2 separate regions of the Homo sapiens genome follow, and region 2 is linked to region 1. The links are contacts of gene promoters, found by promoter capture Hi-C in blood cells and fetal thymus (Javierre and others, 2016). All regions are on one chromosome and are shown on one strand. Each heading gives the region's core, a stretch centred on a gene start or on the middle of the fragment in contact. The rest is flanking DNA. Distances are from core to core; before and after follow the strand shown.

The links. The method cuts DNA at HindIII sites, captures the fragments that hold promoters and counts their contacts. A CHiCAGO score of 5 or more calls a contact.
Region 2: a fragment that was not itself captured here is called in contact with the fragment with the promoter of RBMS3 in region 1 in 1 of 17 cell types (neutrophils); the score reaches 5.2 in neutrophils.

The regions. Positions count from the first base shown.
Region 1 is chr3:29,278,571-29,284,404 of GRCh38, forward strand. It overlaps RBMS3 (RNA binding motif single stranded interacting protein 3), which reads left to right and starts at 2,501. Exons shown (of 15, transcript NM_001003793.3): 1 at 2,501-3,186. The coding sequence starts at 3,112. RBMS3-AS3 (RBMS3 antisense RNA 3) reads right to left here and starts at 2,369. Exons shown (of 3, transcript NR_109804.1): 1 at 2,161-2,369. RefSeq lists an enhancer at 1,356-1,405. The HindIII fragment of the contact is 8,241 bases long and covers 1-5,834 here.
Region 2 is chr3:29,063,314-29,069,479 of GRCh38, forward strand. No RefSeq gene overlaps it. Among named protein-coding and RNA genes, the nearest start is that of RBMS3-AS3, 210 kb to the right of the region's middle. The HindIII fragment of the contact is 2,351 bases long and covers 1,453-3,803 here.

The DNA of each region.
Region 1 (5,834 bases), core at 1,251-3,750:
GGCAGGATTGGAACCCAGGCAGTCTGGATGGGATCCAAGGCATTAACACGAAGTATTCTCACAGTGCACAATACCCAGAGAATGGTTCACACCCTTGCTTTGACCTTAGGAAAGCATTTTCCAAGGCTCTTCCTTGGAGAGCATTTTCCTATCTTGTTTAAAGTAGAATCTCTGTGACTTTGTTTCTCTTTACTCTGTTTCATATTTCCTTACAGCGCTTTGTATTTCCTGACATTATACTGCATATTTACTTCTTTATCCCTTTGTTTGTCCCCCCTTCCCCACTAAATATAAACTCGATGAAAGAAGGACCTTGTTCTGATTCATGTGCCTCTATATCCTGCACCCAGGTCAATTCTTGACCTGTAACAGGGACTGAAATGTACTGAAAGAGGGATGTAAGTCAGGTTGAAAAATTATTAATTATGTCTAACATTTTATTCTTCAGACATTTACTGAACACCCATTTTGTGCTCAACTCTATGCAAGTTTTTGGAAATATAAAGGCAAGTGAGAACAATGTGACCTCCTGCCCCCCTAGAGTTTAGAACATCATGGAAGAAACAAACAATAAGCAGGCAAATACATGTAGAATAAGCCTTCTATGAGGGCAAATATAAAGTGCAGCAGAGAAGGAAGGGTTTAGAGAAAGCTACTGTGAGGAGGTGATATCCATACTGAGACCTGAAGGACAGGCTGAAGGGTAAAAGAGGTGGAGATGGACTTGGGAGAGCACTCCAGGAAGAGGGAATGACAGAAGCCTCTGAGAGCATGTTCCTGTCCTGAAAGTAGCTCAGAGTGACTCCGGTATAGGATGTGAGGGGCAGAGTTGAAAGTCCGAGACTAGAGTAGAAAGCCAGGGCCAGACAGCTCGTCAAGTGTCCTGAAACCTATTCCAAAGAGTCAGGACTTTATTGTTTGAGAAACGTGACACCACTGGAGGATTTTTAAATCAGTGTCATTTTTAGTGTCTGATTCAGTGTACTGCCTTCAGCCAGGAGAGTTGGCAGTATTTCTATTTTATAGATGGGACAACTGAGGCCCCAAATAATACATTTAAGAGATAGGTGGGGTTGATTTAATATTCTCAATCACCATGTTGTCAGGGCCTCCTAACTCTTACCCTCTCACCCTCCATCCTTCCTTCCTTCTGATTGTTATTCTTGTCAAAAGTAAAACATAAAACTATTTACCTGCCATCCTTATTTTTATCCAAGGAACACGTATGCACTCACACAGCTTCCAGAAACCAGTTCCCCTCGGTGGAAGCCAGTTGCTTTAGGGGTGGTGCGGCTTGTATGTGGATGGACACCATGTGTGCACTGAGCCCAAATTCTCTGTTCTTCTTGACTAGGAAGCTGGATTTGTACCAGGGACCTTTTATCTAAATAGGAGACTCTGGGCTCAGGAGAACAGAGCCGACTTGACAAAGTAGAAAAGAGCTCAGTATTGGTCTGCCCACGCTTTGGGCATGCGTGAGCACTCGCAGCAAAACACAGCTGGCACATCTAATTTTAGCCTCGCCCGCCTTGAAAAGGGACCCTTTAAGGAAATATATTTTATCTGAAACAATTTGTATTATAATGTAGCAGCTGATAGACATGACAGAATATTATCATTGGTGGGAAAAAACTCTGCCAAGCAATTATGATTTTTGTTCTTTTTTTTTTAGATGATATCAGTAAAGTGATTAAAGCATCAATGCAACAAAATAATCATAAAGAGAGAGACAATGGGAGAAACAGATTTTATCTGTAAAATATCTGACGAACCTAAGGGGTCACTTCCTTTGATTTTTTTTTTTTTTTTTTTTACAAAATGGATGTATTTTAAAAAAGTTATTATTTTTGATATGTTCAGTTGATCAGTCCAATCTGATGACATGTGGCATTAATAGTAGTCCTGGAGTAGACCCTAAAATTTCTTCAATACTTAACATCCACCAAGTTTTCCAGGTAGTAAAAGGTTAGTTTCTCAATCAGCTCTTGGATGCGTCTGGCTCTAGCGTGTTAACAGATTTTGAAAGCATCCGGGACTTACTTTTTTCCCCTTTAACCAGCAAGGTTAGTTCCCCTGCCTTTATTTCTTTTCCTTTCTCCTCCTTCCTTCTTTCGTCCTCTCTTCCCTCTCTTCTGTGTTTTGTTTAGCAGTGTGGCTTACCTTGGAACTTGGCAAAAAGAGGAACAAAAAGCAGCTCTTGTGTGGGGTAGATGGAGGAGGGATAAGAAATAATCCACCGCCCGCATTTGAGTTCTTCAGGTTCAGTTCCAGCGGCAGCAGCGTTGCTGCAAAAATCGCTTGCTATTCGAGATAGCCAGCAGAGGGAATCGGAACTTTGCTTGCAGCAGGGGTTGAAGCAGCCTTTTTTTTTTTTTTTCTTGGAGGAAATACTGCAGCCTTCTGGACTGCGTACGCTGCTCCCTGGAGAGGCTCTCTCGGTTCCACCCACCGGCTGGAAGGAGGGGAAGTGAATGAAAGGACAGGACAAGCCCCGAACACCATGTCACTCTGGGAGGGAGACAGCAGCAACTAAGCTGTACAAGGTTTTTTTTTTTTTTTTTTCTTCCTTTTTTTCTTTTTTTTTTTCTTTTTCCCCTTTCTTTTTCTTTCTTTCTTTCTTTTTCTTTCTTTCTTTCTCTTTCTCTCTCTCTTTTTTCTTTTTCTTTAAGGTGGGGAAAGAGACAACCAAGAGACAGGAAGCTGATCTGCAAGGATTCGGAGTTGTGCTAAAAGGACTTTGATTTTTTTCCCCCTTTACGAACGCTGGCAATTGACATCACTACAGACAGCCTGGTTAGAGAACAAACTGCCTCATCCCAAGTGGACCCCGGCAGCTGGGGGAAGCCAGGCAAGATCTGGGAAGGCTGTGTGTGGGTGTTTTTTCTACAGATCTCACTCCTCGCCCTTTTTTTTTTTCCTTTGGTGTGTGTTTTTTGTTTTGTTTTGTTTTTTAAAAAAATTCTTGCTGTGTTGGAACTAGCGAGTGGTGGAGTCTCTGAAGCCTCATCAGTCACCGGGACTGTCAGGAATAGTGGTTTAAGAGGAAGCTCGGCCTGGGGCACTATACCCTGTCATCCAGTTCCCTGCCTCGGAGATAAAGATTCCAGCTACATGGGCAAACGCCTGGATCAGCCACAAATGTACCCCCAGTACACTTACTACTATCCTCATTATCTCCAAACCAAGGTATGGCTTGACCCACGGTCTGGCGATCAGCGTGGTATCGTTCTGCACTTGGGATGGGAAACAGACAGGCGTGTGAATTATTAGTTAACCCCCACCCCCATCACTTCTTCCTGCTTCTTTGAAATTAGTGACATACCAATGGAGTTAATGAGGCAGAGGAAGACATAAGAAGAAAGCAGCAAACCCGGAATTGTAGCTTTCTCTTTAAGGAGAGATAATAGTTTCACTTGAGTTCAGTTTCTTTGTTGTTATTTGGCAGCATAAATGGTCCTGATATCAGGAACGTCTTTTGCAGATGGGCACGGTTTTTAGAAAGCAGATCACAACAGTGATTACCAGGCACAAGAATATAATTTCAGGGGCTTTTCTGGTGAGCTGTTCTTTGATTGTGGCTCTAAAAGGGTTTTTCCCACTGGATAGGACGTGCAACGGTGGGGGTAACTCAAACTTTTAATCGCAGGGTATAGAATGAAAGAAGGGTGTGAGAAGGTATAGGGCTCCTACCAGAGTCTCTGAGAGTTTATTTTTATTTTTAATTTGCCTTGCCTATTTTATTTTATGTTGAGGATGATCAGCATGCTACAGACTGCTTTACAATAGATGTTCTTTACTTTTAGAAGATCTATTTTTCTGTGTAGCTGCCATGAGGAGGCCTGAGTCTTGAAAAGGAATGAAATGTAACTGATCATAATTGGACTTGAATTGGTTAAATACTTTAGGCTTTATGTGTGTGTGTCAAATGACCATTAGGGGCCCAGAGGCAAGCCCACGTAAGTAAGCAGTGGGCAGTACCTACCCTGAACTTTATCCTGCAGTTAAGACATGAAAGACTCTCAGGTGTGAAATCACTGCTCCGATTTGTCAATTAAATTGGACTTGATTAGGGGGAAAACATGTTAGCGGAGTGACCACCTCGAGTGTACGGGTGATATTATTTTGTATTGCATTAGCATTAGCCAGACTCCACCGTCTCCTTAATAAATAAATATGCCGAGAGTGAACAAGGCGTGCCTGAATGATCTATGCTGTCACCAGGACTCGGTGATGTGATTAGGGTTAGGTAATTCATGCTGTAGTTATCTGTCATTTATTTTGTCTCGTCCAGCAACGCCTATTTGTAAACCAGACTGGGAAGCAGACTTTCAGTATTATACAAAAGATTATTGCTTTGTTTTTTTCTTTTTCAATTGCTTTGTAATCCACCCTGCCCCTCCAAGGTCGACTCACACTGCTATTTGCCTTTGTGAGCATTTAGTTTGTGCTGCTGATGCTTAAATAGACTAGCCCTCCTGCTCGGTGCCTTAAGTTTTAACTCTTTGGGGGTGTTAGGTTGAGAATGCTGCCTGCCATTCCTCAAGGAAATGGCAGAGCAAGGACAAGTTAAAAGGGGAAAATTTACAGTCATTTCTCATGCCTCAACAAAACAAAAACAATAAACTCAAAGGTTGCATGAAAAATATCAGACATTCCATCCCTTTTACTCATTTGGCTACATTTTTCCAAGTGTTTCAAAAATTACACTTTGTTTCGGGTCCTTGTTTTCTACTATGGTATATATTCAGAAAAGAAACTTTAGATTGAAATGAATAACATAATTGTTTTTCTGTTTGAGACTTCTTTTAACCTATTACTAACAGGAAATAGTGAATGTTATGCACATTTTTTCAAAGACACAGGCTGCTGGATGAGCTATACTAGTAGAAAGTGTGTGCGAGAGAGAGAAAGATGGGGGGTAAAGAGAGAGAGTGGAGTAGTGAGGGAAAAGAGAGGAGCCTGAAAAATAGGGAGATTGTAGATATCTGTTTTGGAGTTCTATGTAGTTTAGTGTTGTATAGACAGGCGGCATCTGGATCTTGTTACTCTCAAGCTAGCCAACACCTTGAACTTCTGGAACATTTTTAAAGAAGTTAGATCCATTAGGCGTCCTATGTTGATATTTGGATAATCAGATCAGGATAGTAGGGAATATAAGATCAGCTATTTTGCCTATCATGGTAGTTCACATTGATTATTATGTTGTAAAATGTTGACAATGCTTTGAAGTTGTCCTGTATTGTTATGGTGGCTCTGAAATGACAGACATTAATAGCATTCCTGGAAGCTGAAGATGAGAAAATGTGCCCTGTTTTGAAACTTGCATAGAGAGGAAATGAGATGAAGAGTCAATGTGCAATCATATTTTAAAATGTGGGTACTGGGGATTTTCTGACAGGGTTAATACTATACAATGAAGTACCATCATGTTTCAGTGTAACAGGAAAACAACTGGGTTATTTCCACATCACTTTTTGTTCCTTCTACACTTATACCTCAAAATATAATTTATAATCATTTTAAATGAAGTACATGCTGCTTATATTTATTTGGTAAGCCTGGGTGGAATTCATAAAATCCACTCTTTGTAGCCTTGGCTTGGAGTTATAATCCAATTTGAAATTCATAGCTATTTAAAATGATGCTGATATGTCAATAATACTTATGTTTGATGAAAATAGAGTCTACGGTAGGTAAAAATCGTATTCTGGTGATAACATATCTTAAATTTTTCTCTAAATTGAGGTAGGTTTTCTTCCTGCCAATCCACAAGGGCTATTTACTATCATTAGTTTTTTGGGGAAAATCTTCATGGGATTTTAAAGGATTGAAAT
Region 2 (6,166 bases), core at 1,378-3,877, 220 kb before region 1:
AGCATCCTAATCCTAATGATGGCCAAGGTTTTCAATGGAAACATACATTTTGAAATGACTCCAGTTTTAACATCTCTTTTAGAAAAAAATGCTTCTATTTATATAAACCAAATAATTTGTGATAAAATGCCTATCCATTTTTTTTTTTTTTTTGCCTTATGTCAGGGAAGGAAAGCATACCTTTTAAGTTAACTAACTTCATAATCCTTTTAACTTGTAAATCTTTTAATTGAAGGAATGTCAAAGTCTAATGTGTCAGTGGAGACTTTCAGGCACAATGTTCATTTCAATTGTGAAAAGTTAAAAGCCATAGCCCTTATTGAACATCTTCACATCCATTCCTGCTGAAAATAATGCCCAAAGGTTAGAGATGGGTATGAGAGGAGGGAGAGTGGTAATGGCAGTGGTGGTGGTGTTTTAACTGAACTTCTAAGACATGTTTTCCAAGATGTCTTTGAGGACTGCTTTGTGAAAATTAAGCTGCTAATCATGTACATGTAAATTTATGAAAGAAAACAATTAGAATTGTCATGTCATAGAGTGAAAACTTCGTTTTTACTCTGTGCTCTATAAAAGCCCAACACCTCTTTATTGCAATGTATGCCTTTCACCTTAAAAGAAAAATAAAACTGATTTTAATCGATTTTTCTCTCAGTATAGTGGATTGTCATTAACACTGTGGTAACATTTCATGTTATTGCAATCATTTTCCATGGTCATATATGTGGGGAAAATACTTAGTATCTGCTTCTGTGGGTTATAGAAACAGACGGTTTGGATAAATTACATCTGTCTAGGCAGACTCCTACTTTTTTGTTGTGTTATGTCATTCATCAGGGAAGTAATAAAATAGAGATCAGTGGTTCTGATGTAGTAACTAATACGTCAACCACAAGCTGATTTGAATAGCATTTTCATGGTGCATACCAACACTAATAACTGTGTGGTTTCCTCATAACCTCAGCAGGTTGTATTTATATACTGACAAAAGGACCATGTAAAATCCATGCACAGCTGGTCATCAGAAGGACTATAAAACACTAGGGTTTGTCATACATGTGGTAATTATAAAGTGAGGCTGTGCAGTGTTCCCTAAACCTTGAAAACAAAGCTTCAACTTAATCCTTAAGTGAACTGTTTTGGGTTGGCTTATCACACAGAAGCCCACTCAACAATACCTCCAAGGCAGTTTGTCCTTTGAAGAGAGAGGGGAAAAAAACATAAAATTCACAATAGTCAGTGTTGTGTTATTCAGTTGGTTACATATGGAAACACAAATCTTTGGATTGTCAACACTACTTTCATAACAGAAAGAAACATTTCATTTTGAAAACGTTTCCTTCCATTTTCTTTTACTGTTTGATGCTTGTTTGTACAGTTCATAATCTAATAATCTGAATTACAGCAATACTTTCTTGCATATTGTCCATGCTGAAATAAAAGTACATTGAAAGCTTTAGTTTTATGAAGTGCATACTGCATATGGAGATTTGTTTTCTAAGTAAACACTAAGCAATTTATGCACTAGTAGCATTCAAATCTCTGATGCTGTTTTGGGATAATTCTCAAGGATTTATGACTTTCATGAATTTCTCTCTAACCAACCTAGATGTACTTCAGAATTTTATCATTGTTTTTGACCAAATACCTTGAGTTTGAAGGCTGCTGTGGAAAGTACTCCATATACAAAGATTGGATAAAATCTGAGGCTTTTCAGAATGCTAAAGAAGATTTCAATTCTGCTGCCCTCCCAAAATTAAAAAACAAATCTTCAAAGCTCTGTGTTATTTTTACATTTTGTTTATGAAAATAAAATAAAATGTTGGACCACTTTTGATAATATTTAAGTTGACCAAATCACATTTGTTTTCACCAAATGAAGAAATTCTTCATTTACTGTATCACTTTAGTTTTCCTTCTCATGACTCCTTTGCCAAGAAAACAGATTTTGCAATCAGATGCCTACTAGCTGGGTGTTCATGAGCTGTGATGGATTACTTTTAATAGGTGCTATTTTCCTACTTCATTAACTGCTCTTTTTCTGATGGTGTTTTTTGGGTCAAGTTAGAAAAGAAACAAAGGTTTAACCATTTACCCAAATAGGCAATGACGCTAAGTGTATTTTTTTAAAGTTGATTATGTACACACAAGGATGTGTTTATTTTGGGAGTATGTGTGAGTAAGAGCTTGAGTGTGTGTGAATGTGTTGTTTTTTTCAACTTAAAACTCTTTGCCTGGCCAACTGCCATCTCCATGCCAGTCTCCATGGCAACTTCCTTAAGGATAAAGTAACAGAAATGTGAGGAGGCTGCCTGCCCACAAACAAAGCTGCCACAGCCCTGCCAGAGGCCTGACTAGACAGAATCCCGGAACACTCCACATTCCATGAGAGTTCTGCAGGTTACTGCAGCTAGCTCCATTTAAAGGTGCAGTGCCTCTAGTCCTGGGAGGAAAGTTTAAAAATGTCTTCTGACTAGTCTTTCCATATATTAGAATGTAGATATGCAACCCACATGTCTTGACATTATTTTTCCCTTCCCATCTACATTGAATAAACATTTTATATCTAGCATTTATTTTTTAGTGATATTTGGAAATTTGCTTGACAGAGACCTTTGCCTAATATTGTGTGTTGTATGTACATCACATCAGGATGTGATGTATGTACCTTTAAAATACTTGTATAAAATATAAAATATTGAAAAAGTGAGACTAAATATCTTGATCCATTCTGCTTTCTTAAAAAAAGTGTCTGCTTTCTAATCTTAATGGATTTATGCATGTTTTTCCAAGAAATCAATAAAATTATTAAAATTCATAGTATATTAACATATATAATATATATTATATATAACAGTAATTTTCAAATGGTAGCAATCTTCCATAGGACACTTGGCAATATCTCAGTGGATATTGGTTGTCACAACTGGGGCCATGATACTGGTATCCAGTGGTTAGAGTCCTGGGGGAGCTTTTAAATATCCTACAATCAATAGAATAGCTCCCATAGCAAAGGATTACTGGCCTGAAATGTCAATAATACGAAGGTTGGGAAACCCTAGTATACATACATAGATGTTATATATGTATGTATGTATGTGTGTATGTACATACCAATTTAAAAATAAAGATTATAAGGTGTAGAGAGCTTAAATAGGAATAAACTATGCTAAGGCAACTTTCTAAGTTGTTTTTGCTCTGTCTCCTCAAACTGGGTACCAGAACTCTGATGACAACTGTCAATCTAGAGTCCACTGTCCAGGATTATCTATACAATGTATTTAGTATCTCTATAGCAATTGTTTTTTAAGACCACAAAAGAATACCTAAGAAGACCAGGCCTAGGCTAGGGAGTAAGAACTATGTGTAGTTTACTCTGTCTCTAAGAGTGTTTTCTATGCAATGAACTATACATCATATACAAGCTGTTTTTTACCTTAACTATTAATTCTTTCCCATTAGGAATTAGTAAAATGCTTCATAATTATGGCTAAGGGAAATATTTATGATCTTCAGCATACAGATTGCTCATTTCATCTCCAAAGTTTTGCTAATACTATTCAGGCTGTTTATGTTGTTGTTACCCCATAATATTCAACACAGTGTTTATATCAGTTATGTTAACCAGTTATGGAAAATCCTGAGTTTCTGGTTACCCAAATGAAAAGTTTACTTTAAACACAAGCCAAGGAAGTTTGGTTATGTTCAGCAGTGCTACTCAAAGTATGATTTCCTAAACTGGTGAATGACTACAACCATTTGATTACTGGTCTGTAACAAAATAGGTATAGAAATTAAAAATAAGCTTTTAGAAATTTTAATAACAATTTTGTAATGTCACAGCATCTAAGCATGTCTCATCAAACAGCTTGAGGTGTTGTCAAATTCATGTGGTGAGTCATAGAGTCACTAGCTATGAACTAGTCATCATGATCTCTAGCTACGAACTGGTGTGATCATATAAACTCACATAGTGAGATAGTATGTTGGGTCTGTGATAGATTGGAAATTAATTTTAACAATAACCAAAAGTCGGCCAGGTGCAGTGGCTCACGCCTATAATCCCAGCTACTCCGGAGGCTGAGGAATGAGAATTGCTTGAACCTGGGAGGTAGAGGTTGCAGTGAGCCGAGATCACGCCACTGCACTCCAGCCTGGGCAACAGAGCGAGACCCCATCTCAAAAACAACAACAACAAAAAACCCTGAAACTCCCTGATATGAGAAACACAATCATATTTACTATATTTTTATTACCTGGAAATGTCTTCTCATTCTATTTATGTCCAGATAAAAGTCAGTTCTGCTTTTTGGACATATATGGTTTAGCCTTCCCTGTGATTTGTTGCAATGTTGAGGTTAGTTACTTCTTATAGGTAGAGTAATGTATGGATTTGGTACAACCTACAAAAGGTCTTCTCTTGGAGAGAAATGAACATCATGAGTATCAGGATATGATAGATCATGCTGCTGTAGTCAACAACCCTAAGTATCAGAGGCTTAAATCAACAATTTATTTCTGGCTAACACTACCTATCTATCATGGGCAAGCAGGGACTCTCCTATTGTTTCCAGGTTAGTCAGTCCAGAACTCAGGCTGATGGAGCATCTACCATGTTTAACTTTGCTGATTACTGCCAGGAGGAAAAAAGATTTTGGCCATTCTTTCACCAAGTAACTAATTCACATGTCACTTCTCTCCCCTCAGTAGCCAGATCTACCACTTGACCCTATCCCACCATGCAAGAAAAGAGTGCAAATCTAACATGTGCCCAGAGTGTAGGGATTCATAGAGATTTGGTGAACTCCATTAATGACTATGGCACTAGAAAGCTTCTGGGTATTACTATTAAGTGCATATTTTTGCCTTTAATCCTTGGGTTTTACTCTTTAGTATATCACTTTCACATTTGCACAGGCATAGGAGGCAGCATGGGGAAGCTGACAGACTACTTCCTTTGACTTTAGATTGAATCCCAACCCTACATCTTAGCTGTGGTATAACCATACATAAATTCTTTAATCACTTTGAAATGAGACAATAATGCTCACATCATGTGTTGTAATGAAGATTAAGTTGGATAACCTTCATTAAATGAAGACTAAGTTGGATAACCTTCATTAAACGAGTAACTTTCATATTATTAAGTGCAGGCAGATGGAAGTATTTATTGTTAGGCAATAATAATTTTAGCTCAGCTTACAAAAAGTATTTTTGGGTCTGGAAAAATATAACTAATATTGGTATTGATTTAGGTAGAACTCAGCTATTGAACCATGGTAGATTCTGAAGCATCTTTTGAATCTTGTCTGTTGGTGTTGATCTAGCCAACAGATTTTGAATTATTCTTGGTGAAATCATGGTGGTTGGAAGATATGAGTTATCAAATTTCTCCTTTGGGTAAAAATGTTTCTAATCTTTCAGAAATTTCTCTATTAAGGCATTTTGTGTTGCCACTTAGGTACTTATTGTTCTGCAATACAGCGTAATATTGTTTCTAGAAATCAAAAATGTAATGTGGCTCTTATTTGAAATTTCTGTTCAATTTCAGTTGATTTTCTGGCGAATTGCATATTTTTTCTGTTTAAGAGTTTATTATATAGGTTAATTCTTTTTAAAAGAGAGATTACTTAATATACTCAAACTAAACCTAATAATAATAATATATCAGAAGATTATTTGCGGAAATACCAGATGCTGTTGATGATCAGGCAATTTTGTCTTTCTGGCAACAGAAAAGGCACCCAGCAGTAGTAAAACATGTATCAGTGACTGATTCCCAGCCAGTATAGGAGTAACACTCCAGTTTTTAAAATTTTTTCTGTTCCCGTGTTTGCTTAGGGTAATGGCCTCCAGTTACATCCAGGTTGCTGCAAAGCACATGATCTCATTATTTGTAGTGGCTGCATAGTATTCCATGGTGTGTATGTGCTACATTTTCTTGGTCCAGTCTACTGTTGATGGACATTTGGGGCGATTCTATTGATTCTATGTCTTTGCTATTGGGAACAGTGCTACAGTGAACATAAGCATCCATATATCTTTACCATAGAATGATTTAGATTCCTTTGGGTATATACTCAATAACGGGATTGCTGGGTTGAATGGTAATTCTAAGTTTTTTGAGAAATTGCCAAACTGCTTTCCAGAAAGACTGAACTAATTT